4 separate regions of the Homo sapiens genome follow, and regions 1, 2 and 3 are each linked to region 4. Evidence: promoter capture Hi-C in human tissues and cell types (Jung and others, 2019). All regions are on one chromosome and are shown on one strand. The core of a region is centred on a gene start or on the middle of the fragment in contact, and the rest is flanking DNA. Distances in the headings are between cores, read along the strand shown.

Region 1 (2,915 bases), core at 70-2,569, 130 kb before region 4:
ATGTCCCTGTCATCCACGGTCTTAGTCTCTGCTGTCACTCAGCTCTGTTCCTGTCTTAAACACCAACATGCTATGCTTTTAACTCTTTTGCCACCTGCCTTTGCTCTGCTTGTTCTTCCAGTGACAAATGCATGAGCCACTTTTCAGGAGGTGAAATTATTAAAACTCTTGAGGATGTGACCTATTTCACATTGAGAAATAAGTTGCCCTGAATGGAGTAACCATTTTTCCTGTAAGTTTGCAAAAGAGGCAGCAGTTGTGACACTGTGGAAGGAGATAGAAAAATTCCTTGCCATGAGGGAATGTCTAAATTTGTCCTGCGGGGAGGATGACTACAGGCAGAAATAGTGAGGTGAGGCAGGAACATAAGAGGGGTTTTCTTGATTTAGTTTGAATGTATCTAAGTGACAAAAAGGAGCATCTGAAGAACTTGGATTCTTTCATTAGCACCTCCTTTTGGTCCATTGGCCTATTCAACAAATCTATAAATCCTTCAAGTATCACACTAACTTTCAGCTCAGTGTGCTGCGGGCTCTAGACCAAAGATTCCTCCTGTAAGATTACAGAGGTTATTCCCTTTGTAAAGTAACATGATTCTCTTTCTCTTTCATTTTCAGGGAAGCAGAGACTTTCAAGGAACAAGGAAATGCATACTATGCCAAGAAAGATTACAATGAAGCTTATAATTATTATACAAAAGCCATAGGTGAGAAAGAACTGATACTTACGCTAGAAAACATTTACTTGCCAAATATTATTAAAAGTAGCTGCCAAGTCCTGGTGGCTCACGCCTGTAATCCCAGCACTTTGGGAGGCCAAAGCAGGAGGATCACTTTAGATCAGGGGTTTCAGACCACTCTGGCCAACATGACGAAACCCCGTCTCTACTGAAAATACAAAAATTAGCTGGGCCTGGTGGCGGGCACCTGTAATCCCAGCTACTTGGGAGGCTGAGGCAGGAGAATTGCCTGAACTCGGGAGGTAGAGGTTGCAATGAGCCAAGATTGTGCCACTGCACTCCAACCTGGGCAACAAAGCAAGACTTCATCTCAAAAAGATAAAAAAAATAGGCCAGGCTCAGTGGCTCATGCCTGTAATCCCAGCACTTTGGGAGGCCAAAGCAGGCGGATCACTTTAGATCAGGGGTTTCAGACCACTCTGGCCAACATGACGAAACCCTGTCTCTACTAAAAATACAAAAATTAGCTGGGCCTGGTGGCGGGCACCTGTAATCCCAGCTACTTGGGAGGCTGAGGCAGGAGAATTGCCTGAACTCGGGAGGTAGAAGTTGCAGTGAGCCAAGATTGTGCCACTGCACTCCAACCTGGGCAACAAAGCAAGACTTCATCTCAAAAAGATAAAAAAAATAGGCCAGGCTCAGTGGCTCACGCCTATAATCCCAGCACTTTGGAAGGCCAAGGCAGGCAGATCACCTAAAGTCAGGAGTTTGAGACCGGCCTGGCTAACATGGTGAAACCCTGTCTCTACAAAATACAAAAATTTGCTGGGTGTGGTGGTGCGTGCCTGTAATCCCAGCTACTAGGGAGGCTGAGGCAGGAGAATCGCTTGAACCCAGGAGGTGGAGGTTGCAGTGAGCTGAGATCCTGCCGTTGCACTCCAGCCTGGGGGACGACCAAAGAACTCCATCTCAAAAATTAAATTAAAAAAAATTGAGAAAAGTAGCTTCTCTCTGAGAAGTAGCCTTTTGCCCAATGGGTTGATAACTGTTACTGTATGAACTCCTTCAGGCTTAATGATCTCATGAAGGCCAGGCGTGGTGACTCATGCCTGTAATCCCAGCATTTTGGGAGGCCGAGGCGGGCGGATCACCTGAGGTCAGGAGTTCTTCTCCCCTAATTTGCTTACCCCAACTCAACATGCACATTTCATTTCAGCCTGGCCTGTTAACATGGTGAAACCCTGTCTCTAAAGATACAAAAATTAGCCAGGTGTGGTGGGCGCTTGTAATCCCAGCTACTCGGGAGGCTGAGGCAGGAGAATTGCTTGAACCTGGGAGGCAGAGGTTGTAGTGAGCCAAGATCACGTCGCTGCACTCCAGCCTGGGCAACAAGCGCGAATCTCCGTCTCAAAAAAAAAAACAAACTCATGAATGATAACTTTTTTCTTTTTCTTTTCTTTTTTTTTAACTCTTTAAATTTTTTAAAATAGAGACAGGGTCTTACCATGTTGCCCCGGCTGGTCTCAAACTCCTGGGCTCAAGCGATCCTCCTACCTTGGCCTCCCAAAGTGCTAGAATTACAGGGATGTGCCACCATCCCCAGCTGTGATAACTTCTTCTAACTGGGGTGGGTAGTTTTTCTTTTGATAAATTAAAGGCAATTCCAGAAATACTGAATGTTATGGCAAAACCCACCTAAATACATTTCAGTCATTGTCAATTCATTTACTACCTTAGAAAATGGCCTTTGTACATAAAAGAAGTCTTAGTTATCTCCATGCTTAATTTGCCAGCATACTTTAATCCCGTGTCAGCATTCTTCTCACCTAATTTGCTTACCCCAGCTCAACATGCACATTTCATTTTAATGTCTCATTATACAAAACAGTTCATTAAGATTAATAAGCTGCCTCTCTCCTCAAAAGATAATCACTACACTTCAAAGCCGTACCTTGTTTTGTTTTAAAACTGATTGTATCCTTGCTGCTGTCCATTTGCACAAGCAGTCAGAAATTTGGATGCAGCCTATTTATTTATTGTTGAGACAGTGTCACTGTCACCCAGGCTGGAGTGTAGTGGCACAATCTTGGCTTATTGCAACCTTCACCTCCTAGTTTCAAGCGATTTTCATGCCTTAGCCACCTGAGTAGCTGGGATTGCAGGTGTGTGCCACCATGCTTGGCTAATTTATTTGTATTTTAGCAGAGACAGCGTTTTGCCATGTTGGCCAGGCTGG
Region 2 (2,713 bases), core at 1-2,500, 250 kb before region 4:
GCGGCAGACGATGTTCGAGCTCTCAAAGATGTTCTTGCTCTGCCTTAACTACTGGAAGCTTGAGACACCTGCCCAGTTTCGGCAGAGGTCTCAGGCTGAGGACGTGGCTACCTACAAGGTCAATTACACCAGGTAGGCCCAGCCAGGGGCAGCTTCGGGGGAGGCTTGCAGGCCCAGCCTGGGTTCAGTGGTTTCCGCCCTCACCTGTCTCCCCCTCGACCCCCTACTCCAGATGGCTCTGTTACTGCCACGTGCCCCAGAGCTGTGATAGCCTCCCCCGCTACGAAACCACTCATGTCTTTGGGCGAAGCCTTCTCCGGTCCATTTTCACCGTTACCCGCCGGCAGCTGCTGGAAAAGTTCCGAGTGGAGAAGGACAAATTGGTGCCCGAGAAGAGGACCCTCATCCTCACTCACTTCCCCAAGTAAGGCTCCTTCTGGCCTACCAGGATTTGGCCCCAAGTTCACATCCTCCCTGTTGTCCCCTTTTTTCCAGGAAGGCTTCCTGGATTGGTCCCTCCTCTCCCTCCATGGGCCTTTTGGGATCTGGGCGTCTACCTGGCAGACTTGCCCATGGCCCAGAAGCAACTTGCTAGTACTAGTCTGGGGATGGCAGGTACATAGCCCAAGCTAACGCTGCCCCCACCCGACCCTACGCCCCAGTAGATGTTACTAATTGTTTCCCATGGGGGCCTGGACACAGCCTCAGACTCCTTCCCTGCACAACTCTCCAAGAAACCAGACCTTAAGCTTGAAGTGAAACCAATTTCTACTCCTGTTCTGGTCTTTTCTGTACCATTTTCTTCTGTTCGGCCACACCTTTTAAAATCTAGGCCATAACTCCCCTGTTCAAAAAACCCTGACTGACTAATCCTGGCTCTCTAGTGCCCCCTGCCATCAGGTGGGAACAAGAGATGGCAAGGTGGGGTGGAGTCTGAGCCCATTTTGATACTGAGGGCAGTGAGGGGGCTCAGGGTGACAAGGTGCCCTGCCTGGCCACACAGCACAGGATGACATCAGCTCAGACCTGTCTCCCTGTGCCACACAGCGTGGTGAAACTGAGCCTGTTTGATCTCTGTCCTGGATGTGTCCTGTCCTCTTACCTTCAATTGGAGGCTCCCAGAAGACAGGGGCTGTCCCCTCTCTCAGGTCCCCAGTTCCCTAAGAGCAGGGTCTGTCTCTGACCAGCCTCCAGTCCCTCTGCTGCCTGGCCCAGGCTGCACCCTGGAGAACAGAGTTGTGGGACAGACTGTGTCCTCCCTACAGATTCCTGTCCATGCTGGAGGAGGAGATCTATGGGGCAAACTCTCCAATCTGGGAGTCAGGCTTCACCATGCCACCCTCAGAGGGGACACAGCTGGTTCCCCGGCCAGGTATGTGCCATGGTACGCTCTGTAGGGTGTCTGGCCTGCCTGGCTGAGCTAAGCCTCCTGGGTGGAAGAGAGCTCACCTGGGCCGGAGGCCCTGGATCCCACTGAGGGACCTGCCACCGGCTTCAGCCCCCCCAGTCCCTGCCTTCTCTCTCTCTCTCCTCAGCTTCAGCACCCCCGTCCCTGACTCTCTCTCTCCTCAGCTTCAGCCCCCGTCCCTGACTTCTCTCTCTCTCTCCTCAGCTTCAGCCCCCCATCCCTGACGTCTCTCTCTCTCCTCAGCTTCAGTCAGTGCAGCGGTTGTTCCCAGCACCCCCATCTTCAGCCCCAGCATGGGTGGGGGCAGCAACAGCTCCCTGAGTCTGGATTCTGCAGGGGCCGAGCCTATGCCAGGTGGATACTTGACCCCTGACCTCTGACCCTCATTCACTCCTTCCCAAACCTTTTTTACTGATCCTGAGCAACCTTGCCTGCCTCCCCAATAGGCGAGAAGAGGACGCTCCCAGAGAACCTGACCCTGGAGGATGCCAAGCGGCTCCGTGTGATGGGTGACATCCCCATGGAGCTGGTCAATGAGGTCATGCTGACCATCACTGACCCTGCTGCCATGCTGGGGCCTGAGGTGGGCAGCCCGACCTGCTGACCAGTTGGGGGACCCCCACCAACCTGAGACCCCGGCTCACCACCCCTCTTCTGTGCCCAGACGAGCCTGCTTTCGGCCAATGCGGCCCGGGATGAGACAGCCCGCCTGGAGGAGCGCCGCGGCATCATCGAGTTCCATGTCATCGGCAACTCACTGACGCCCAAGGCCAACCGGCGGGTGTTGCTGTGGCTCGTGGGGCTGCAGAATGTCTTTTCCCACCAGCTGCCGCGCATGCCTAAGGAGTATATCGCCCGCCTCGTCTTTGACCCGTGCGTCCCCCAGAGAGCCCCTCCCCCAGGGCAGCACACCCAGTTCCCTTCCTCCTCGGCCTCTTCACTCCTCAAAATTGGGGATCCCCTGCTCCCCACTTCTGAGGTTCATCCTTTGAGCATTCTTACTTCTCACTGCCCAACCCTGACTACAGCTCAGACTTCCAGGGCTCTGGGGACCTGAAGGGGACAGTCAGGGGCTATGACATGCCCCCCTCTCTCTTAGGAAGCACAAGACTCTGGCCTTGATCAAGGATGGGCGGGTCATCGGTGGCATCTGCTTCCGCATGTTTCCCACCCAGGGCTTCACGGAGATTGTCTTCTGTGCTGTCACCTCGAATGAGCAGGTCAAGGTGAGCGCGGCTCCCCGGCCCCAGCCCCAGTCCACGGCCCACTCCTGAGTTTGGGCCAGTTCGGAGCAGCAGGATGTGT
Region 3 (3,071 bases), core at 192-2,691, 160 kb after region 4:
CCCAGGGTTTGTCATCTCAGTTCTGTGTGATGCACATAGATTGCTGCCCCTGTCCTGCTTCTGAACCTGCCAGGCTGGTCCCAGGTCCCTGACAGGCCACCCCGACCCCTTCCTCAGCTCCTGCCACTCCCTGCAAAAACCGACAGGAAGTTTCCGAAAGTGACCAGTTGATTCAATTGCAAATTAATATTCTGCAGCTTGGTTGTTACTGGCAACTGTGGTGAATCATTTCTCTTTCATTCCCAAGGTCATTTGACGTCAGCCCCCTTTTCCCCACCGTGAACACAGCTGCCTAAGTCCCGCTTCCGTCCTTTCCTCCTTTCCTCCATCGCTGGAGGTTCTGTCACCCCATTCAGTGTCAGCCCCTCCACCAGGGCCCATCATCCCAGACCCTCCTGCCTGCTTAGAGACCGTGTGCTTTCACTCTTTCATTCACTCATTCATCCATGCATCTGTTTACTCAACACAAATTTTCCAAGTGCCTGCTTTGTGTCAGGCACTGTTCTGACCCTGGGGACACAATGGTGATCGAGGGGGGTCTTTGTTCTTTCTCTTCCCTTTTCTTTGTTGTCTATTGAGCCCAGGAGTGGGGTGGGTTGGAGTGACACATGGTGGGCTCAAGGGGCCATGGGGGAGGTTTGGATGGCTGGTTATGCCTATGACCTCGCTATTGAGAACGTTATTTCAGAGAAGGTAGAAGGATCAGTGCGTTTCTTCAAGCTTTACTGAAGTTTTGCTGCATATATAAACCCACCTGATTCCAAATGATCCCTGGCAGACGGCAGAGGTCATTTCTGTCCACGAGCCAGAGAGATGCTGCCATGTGGCAAGGGCAACACCCCTGCTCATAATGTGCCCACCCAGCCAGCTTTGGAAATGATGCAATTCTTTTTTTTTTTTTTTTTTTTTTTTTAAATAAGCCATTTAGCCAGGCGCAGTGGCTCATGTCTGTAATCCCAGCACTTTGGGAGGCTGAGGCAGGCAGATCACTTGAGAACAGGAGTTCGAGACCAGCATGGCCAACATGGTGAAACCCCCGTCTCCAATAAAAATACAAAAATTAGCTGGGAGTGGTAGCGCATGCCTGTAATCCAGCTACTCAGGAGGATGAGGCAGGAGAATTGCCTGAATCCAGGGGGTAGAGGTTGCAGTGAGCCGAGATCAGACCACTGCACTCCAGCCTGGGCAACAGAGTGAGACTGTCTCCAAAAAAAAAAAAAAAAGCCATTTATTTAGATATTGTTTATATACCATACCTTTTGCCCTTTGAAAGTATACACTTCAGTGGCTTTTATATTATTTACTTTCTTTTTGAGACAAGTTCTTTTTCTTTTTCTTTTTTTTTTGAGACGGAGTCTTCTTCTGTCACCCAGGCTGGAGTGCAGTGGTATGAACTCAGCTCACTGCAACCTCCACCTCCCGAGTTCAAGTGATTCTCCTGCCTCAGCCTCCCAAGTAGCTGGTATTACAGGCGCCCATCACCACATCTGGCTAATTTTTTGTATTTTTAGTAGAGATGGGGTTTCACCGTGTTGGTCAGGCTGGTCTCGAACTTCTGACCTCAAGTGATCTGCCCGCCTCGGCCTCCCAAAGTGCTGGGATTACTGGCGTGAGTCACTGCGCCTGGCTGGGGTCTTCTTATATTGCCTAGGCCGGTCTTGAATTCAGGTGATCCTCCTGCATTGGGCTCCCAAAGTGCTGGGATTACAGACTTGAGCCACTGTGCCCAGCCAAAGACAGGTTTTTTGCTGTGTTGCACAGGCTATTCTCTAACTTCTGGGCTCAATGATCCTCCCACCTAAGCCTCCCAAGTAGCTAGGACTGGAGATGCAAGCCACCAAGCCCAGCTTCAGTGGCTTTTAGTTCACACATTTGTGCAACTATCACCATTATCTAATTCAGAACACTTTCATCACCCCACACCCATTTGCAGTCATTCCTCATTCCCCCTTTTCCCTGGAAACCACAAATCTACTTTCTGTCTCCAAGAATTTGCCTATTCTGAGACTTTCATTTAATTGGAATCATACAATATACGGCCTTTTGTGTATGGGTTATTTTACTTAGCATGATGCATTTGTGATTCATTCATGTTGTAGTATACATCAGAACTTCATTCTTTTTTTTTTTTGAGACAGAGTCTCGCTCTGTTGCCCAGGCTGGAGTGCAATGGCAGGATCTCAGCTTACTGCAACCTCCGCTTCCTGGGTTCAAGTGATTCTTCTGCCTCAGCCTCCCAAGTAGCTGGGATTACAGGTGCCTGCCACCACGCCCAGCAAATTTTTTGTATTTTTAGTAGAGACGGGGTTTCACTATGTTGGCCAGGCTGGTCTCGAACTCTTGACCTCAGGCAATCCACTCGCCTCGGCCTCCCAAAGTGCTGGCATTACAAGTGTGAGCCACTGCACCCGGCCTTTTTTTTTTTTTTTTTTGAGACAGAGTTTCGCTTTTGTTGCCCAGGCTGGAGTGCAATGGCGCGATCTCGGCTCACTGCAACCTCCGCCTCCAGGGTTCAAGCGATTCTCCTGCCTCAGCCTCTCGCGTAGCTAGGATTACAGGTGCTCACCACCACACCCGGCTAATTTTTATATTTTTATTTATTTTTTATTTTATTTTATTTTTTTTCGAGACAGCGTCTCACTCTGTTGCCCCGGCTAGAGTGCAGTGGTACGATCTTGGCTCACTGCAACCTCCGCCTCCCGGGTTCAAGTGATTCTTCTGCCTCAGCCTGGCCAGCATGGTGAAACCCCGTCTCTACTAATAATACAAAAAATTAGCTGAATATGGTGTCGCGTGCCTGTAAGCCCAGCTACTCGGGAGGCTGAGGCAGAATAATTGCTTGAACCTGGGCGGTGGAAGTTGCAGTGAGTTGAGATTGCGCCATTGCACTCTGGCCTGGGTGACAAGAGTGAGACTATCTCAAACAAAACAAAACAAAACAAAACAAAACAAAGAAATGGTGCCAAATCTTATTTATTAATTTAGAGACAGGCTCTCTCTCACTCCCGTTGCCCAGGCTGGTGTCCAGTGGCGCAATCTTGGCTTCCTGGGCTCAAGTGATTCTCCCCTGT
Region 4 (2,721 bases), core at 40-2,539:
AGGCTAACTTTTGTATTTTTTGTGGAGATAAGGTTCTGCTGTATTTCCCAGGCTCTTCTGGAACTCATGGACTCAAGCAATCCATCCTCCTTGGCCTCCCAAAGTGCTGTTACAGGCGTGAGCCACTGTGCCTGGCCTGGCCTGAACTGTACTAATAGTTTCAGTATATATGGTTTTAAAAATGCTCATCTACGGTCAGGCGTGGTGGCTCATGCCTGTAATCCCAGCACTTTGGGAGGCTGAGGCGGGTGGATCACGAGGTCAGCAGATCGAGACCATCCTGGCTAACACGGTGAAACCCCGTCTCTATTAAAAATACAAAAACTTAGCCAGGCATGGTGGCGGGCGCCTGTAGTCCCAGCTACTCCGGAGGCTGAGGCAGGAGAATGGCGTGAACCCGGGAGGCGGAGGTTGCAGTGAGCCGAGACCCGCGCCACTGCACTCCAGCCTGGGCGACAGAGCGAGACTCCGTCTCAAAAAAAAAAAAAAAAAAAAAATTAGCCTGGAGTGGTGGCGGGCGCCTGTAGTCCCAGCTACTCGGGAGGCTGAGGCACAAGAATCGCTTGAACCCGGGCGGCGGAGGTTGCAATAAGCGAAGAGCGCGCCACTGCACTCCAGCCTGGGCGACAGAGCGAGACTCCGTCTCAAAAAAAAAAAAAAAAAAAAAATTAGCCTGGAGTGGTGGCGGGCGCCTGTAGTCCCAGCTACTCGGGAGGCTGAGGCACAAGAATCGCTTGAACCCGGGCAGCGGAGGTTGCAATAAGCGAAGAGCGCGCCACTGCACTCCAGCCTGGGCGACAGAGCGAGACTCCGTCTCAAAAAAAAAAAAAACAAAAAACCCAAAACAAAACAAAAACAAAAAGAAACAAAAAAAAAAACGGATAACGAGTAACTCATTCATCCCTCATCCACTTAGCTGGGGCTAGATCTTATAAAAATCCTGTATTGCCACTCAAGGCTTTAACAACAGGTGATGGTCTAAGGTGGCTTTACTCGACAAAATGACTGCAGAGAGCATGCTACCCACTAAGGAAAGGAAGCGAGCCATACTCGCACCGACGCCCTGGGGGTAGGCCTGGGGCGAAGTCTTCTGGACTGGGCGACTGTTACTGACGGACCTCACCAAGGCAGGCAGAGCTGCTGGAGGCGAGGCGGCGCTGCTGGAGGCGAGGCGGCGCTGCTGGAGGCGAGGCGGCGCTGCTGGAGGCGAGGCGGCGCATGTGCGGCCGGCGGGCGACCTGGCCCCGCCCCGCGCGCACTATTTAATCCCAGAATCCCTCTGTGTCGTACCAACAGCCGCATCGTTCCGAGGCTGTGGAGGCCGGGCGCAGCGGCGTCAAGATGGCGGCTGCGGCAGTGGCGGCGGCGGCGGCGGCGGCCGCGGCTGCATCTCTTCAGGTACTGGAGATGGAGAGCATGGAGACGGCCGCCGCCGGCTCGGCAGGACTGGCCGCCGAGGTCCGAGGCAGCGGCACGGTGGACTTCGGGCCTGGGCCGGGGATCTCTGCAATGGAGGCGAGCGGGGGCGATCCGGGCCCAGAAGCCGAGGATTTCGAGTGCAGCTCTCACTGCTCAGAGCTGTCCTGGCGGCAGAACGAGCAGCGGCGCCAGGGCCTCTTCTGCGACATTACCCTGTGCTTCGGCGGGGCTGGAGGCCGCGAGTTCCGGGCCCACCGCTCGGTACTGGCTGCCGCCACCGAGTACTTCACGCCCCTGCTCTCGGGCCAGTTTTCCGAGTCCCGCTCGGGACGGGTGGAGATGCGCAAGTGGAGCTCCGAGCCGGGGCCCGAACCCGACACAGTGGAAGCCGTAATCGAGTACATGTACACCGGGCGCATCCGCGTCAGCACGGGCAGCGTGCACGAGGTGCTGGAGTTGGCCGACAGGTAGGCGAGGGAGGCGGGAGCGCGGAGGGCGGCGGGCGCGGAGAGGGGGAGATGCTCGCTGGCGGAGGGGAGGGCAGTGCCTGCCACGGCAGCTCGCGAGTCCTGAGTGAATGCATTGGTTTCACACTCGCTGAGCGCCTGCTTGGGGGCAGCCACCGCGGTGGGCGAGGAGGATGCACCATCAGGTCCGGCGAGGGCGCCCCGCGCCCAAGGAGCTCAGATACTAGGTGATGGGACAAAAGTGATGAAAAGGAAAGTCAGTATGTGGTAACTGTTGTGCTGACGTTCAAAAGGAATGAAAGGCTAGGGATTGAATAAAGATCTTTCTGAAGAGGTGAAGTTTAGATCGACCTCTGAATGTCAAAAAATAACTGACCGTGCAAAGATGGGGAATGAATATTCCAGACAGCGCAAACGCCCTCAGGCAGGATCCAGTTTGGCTTAGAGAAGAGAATTAAAATATAGTCCAGTGAGGCTGGATCTAGTGGATGAAGGGGAGAAGGATGCGTGAGATGCGTTGGAATAAGGAGTTTGGATTTCACTAAGTGTGATAGGAAGCTGGGTAAAGAAATAGCTCATTTAAATATTTTAATATTATTCTGCCACTGTGTTAAACGGATTGTAGGGAGCAGGAATGCTCCAGAGACTGGTTAGAAGGCAGGTAATACCGTTTATAGAGATGGAGAGGCGTTTGTTTTGGCAATTATCATCTTACAGATACATTAACAAAAATGCCTATTGAGCGCCTATTACGCATCAGCTCAGATGCGGGATTCTAAGGTGCTAGGGTTTCAGCAGTGATCAAAACAGACAAAAGTCCTTTTCCTTATCGCAC

Evidence for each region. Contacts are between HindIII fragments. The study calls those that stand out against the background at their distance.
Region 1: a fragment that was not itself captured here is called in contact with the fragment with the promoter of KLHL11 in region 4 in 3 of the 25 tissues and cell types used here (hippocampus, liver and mesenchymal stem cells).
Region 2: a contact is called between a fragment that was not itself captured here and the fragment with the promoter of KLHL11 in region 4, in 2 of the 25 tissues and cell types used here (IMR-90 fibroblasts and lymphoblastoid cells).
Region 3: a contact is called between a fragment that was not itself captured here and the fragment with the promoter of KLHL11 in region 4, in 3 of the 25 tissues and cell types used here (IMR-90 fibroblasts, heart left ventricle and liver).

The regions. Positions count from the first base shown.
Region 1 is chr17:41,998,273-42,001,187 of GRCh38, reverse strand. DNAJC7 (DnaJ heat shock protein family (Hsp40) member C7) reads left to right here. Exons shown (of 14, transcript NM_003315.4): 2 at 618-706. Among named protein-coding and RNA genes, the nearest start is that of DNAJC7, 18 kb to the left of the region's middle. The HindIII fragment of the contact is 6,309 bases long and covers 1-2,915 here.
Region 2 is chr17:42,116,956-42,119,668 of GRCh38, reverse strand. KAT2A (lysine acetyltransferase 2A) reads left to right here. Exons shown (of 18, transcript NM_021078.3): 5 at 1-132; 6 at 233-424; 7 at 1,266-1,372; 8 at 1,652-1,762; 9 at 1,855-1,991; 10 at 2,073-2,281; 11 at 2,508-2,634. Among named protein-coding and RNA genes, the nearest start is that of KAT2A, 3.1 kb to the left of the region's middle. The HindIII fragment of the contact is 4,791 bases long and covers 1-2,713 here.
Region 3 is chr17:41,702,802-41,705,872 of GRCh38, reverse strand. No RefSeq gene overlaps it. Among named protein-coding and RNA genes, the nearest start is that of GAST, 8.0 kb to the left of the region's middle. RefSeq lists an enhancer at 29-821. The HindIII fragment of the contact is 6,214 bases long and covers 1-3,071 here.
Region 4 is chr17:41,863,991-41,866,711 of GRCh38, reverse strand. KLHL11 (kelch like family member 11) reads left to right here and starts at 1,289. Exons shown (of 2, transcript NM_018143.3): 1 at 1,289-1,886. The coding sequence starts at 1,342. RefSeq lists enhancers at 104-604, 605-1,105 and a silencer at 1,139-1,328. The HindIII fragment of the contact is 18,491 bases long and covers 1-2,721 here.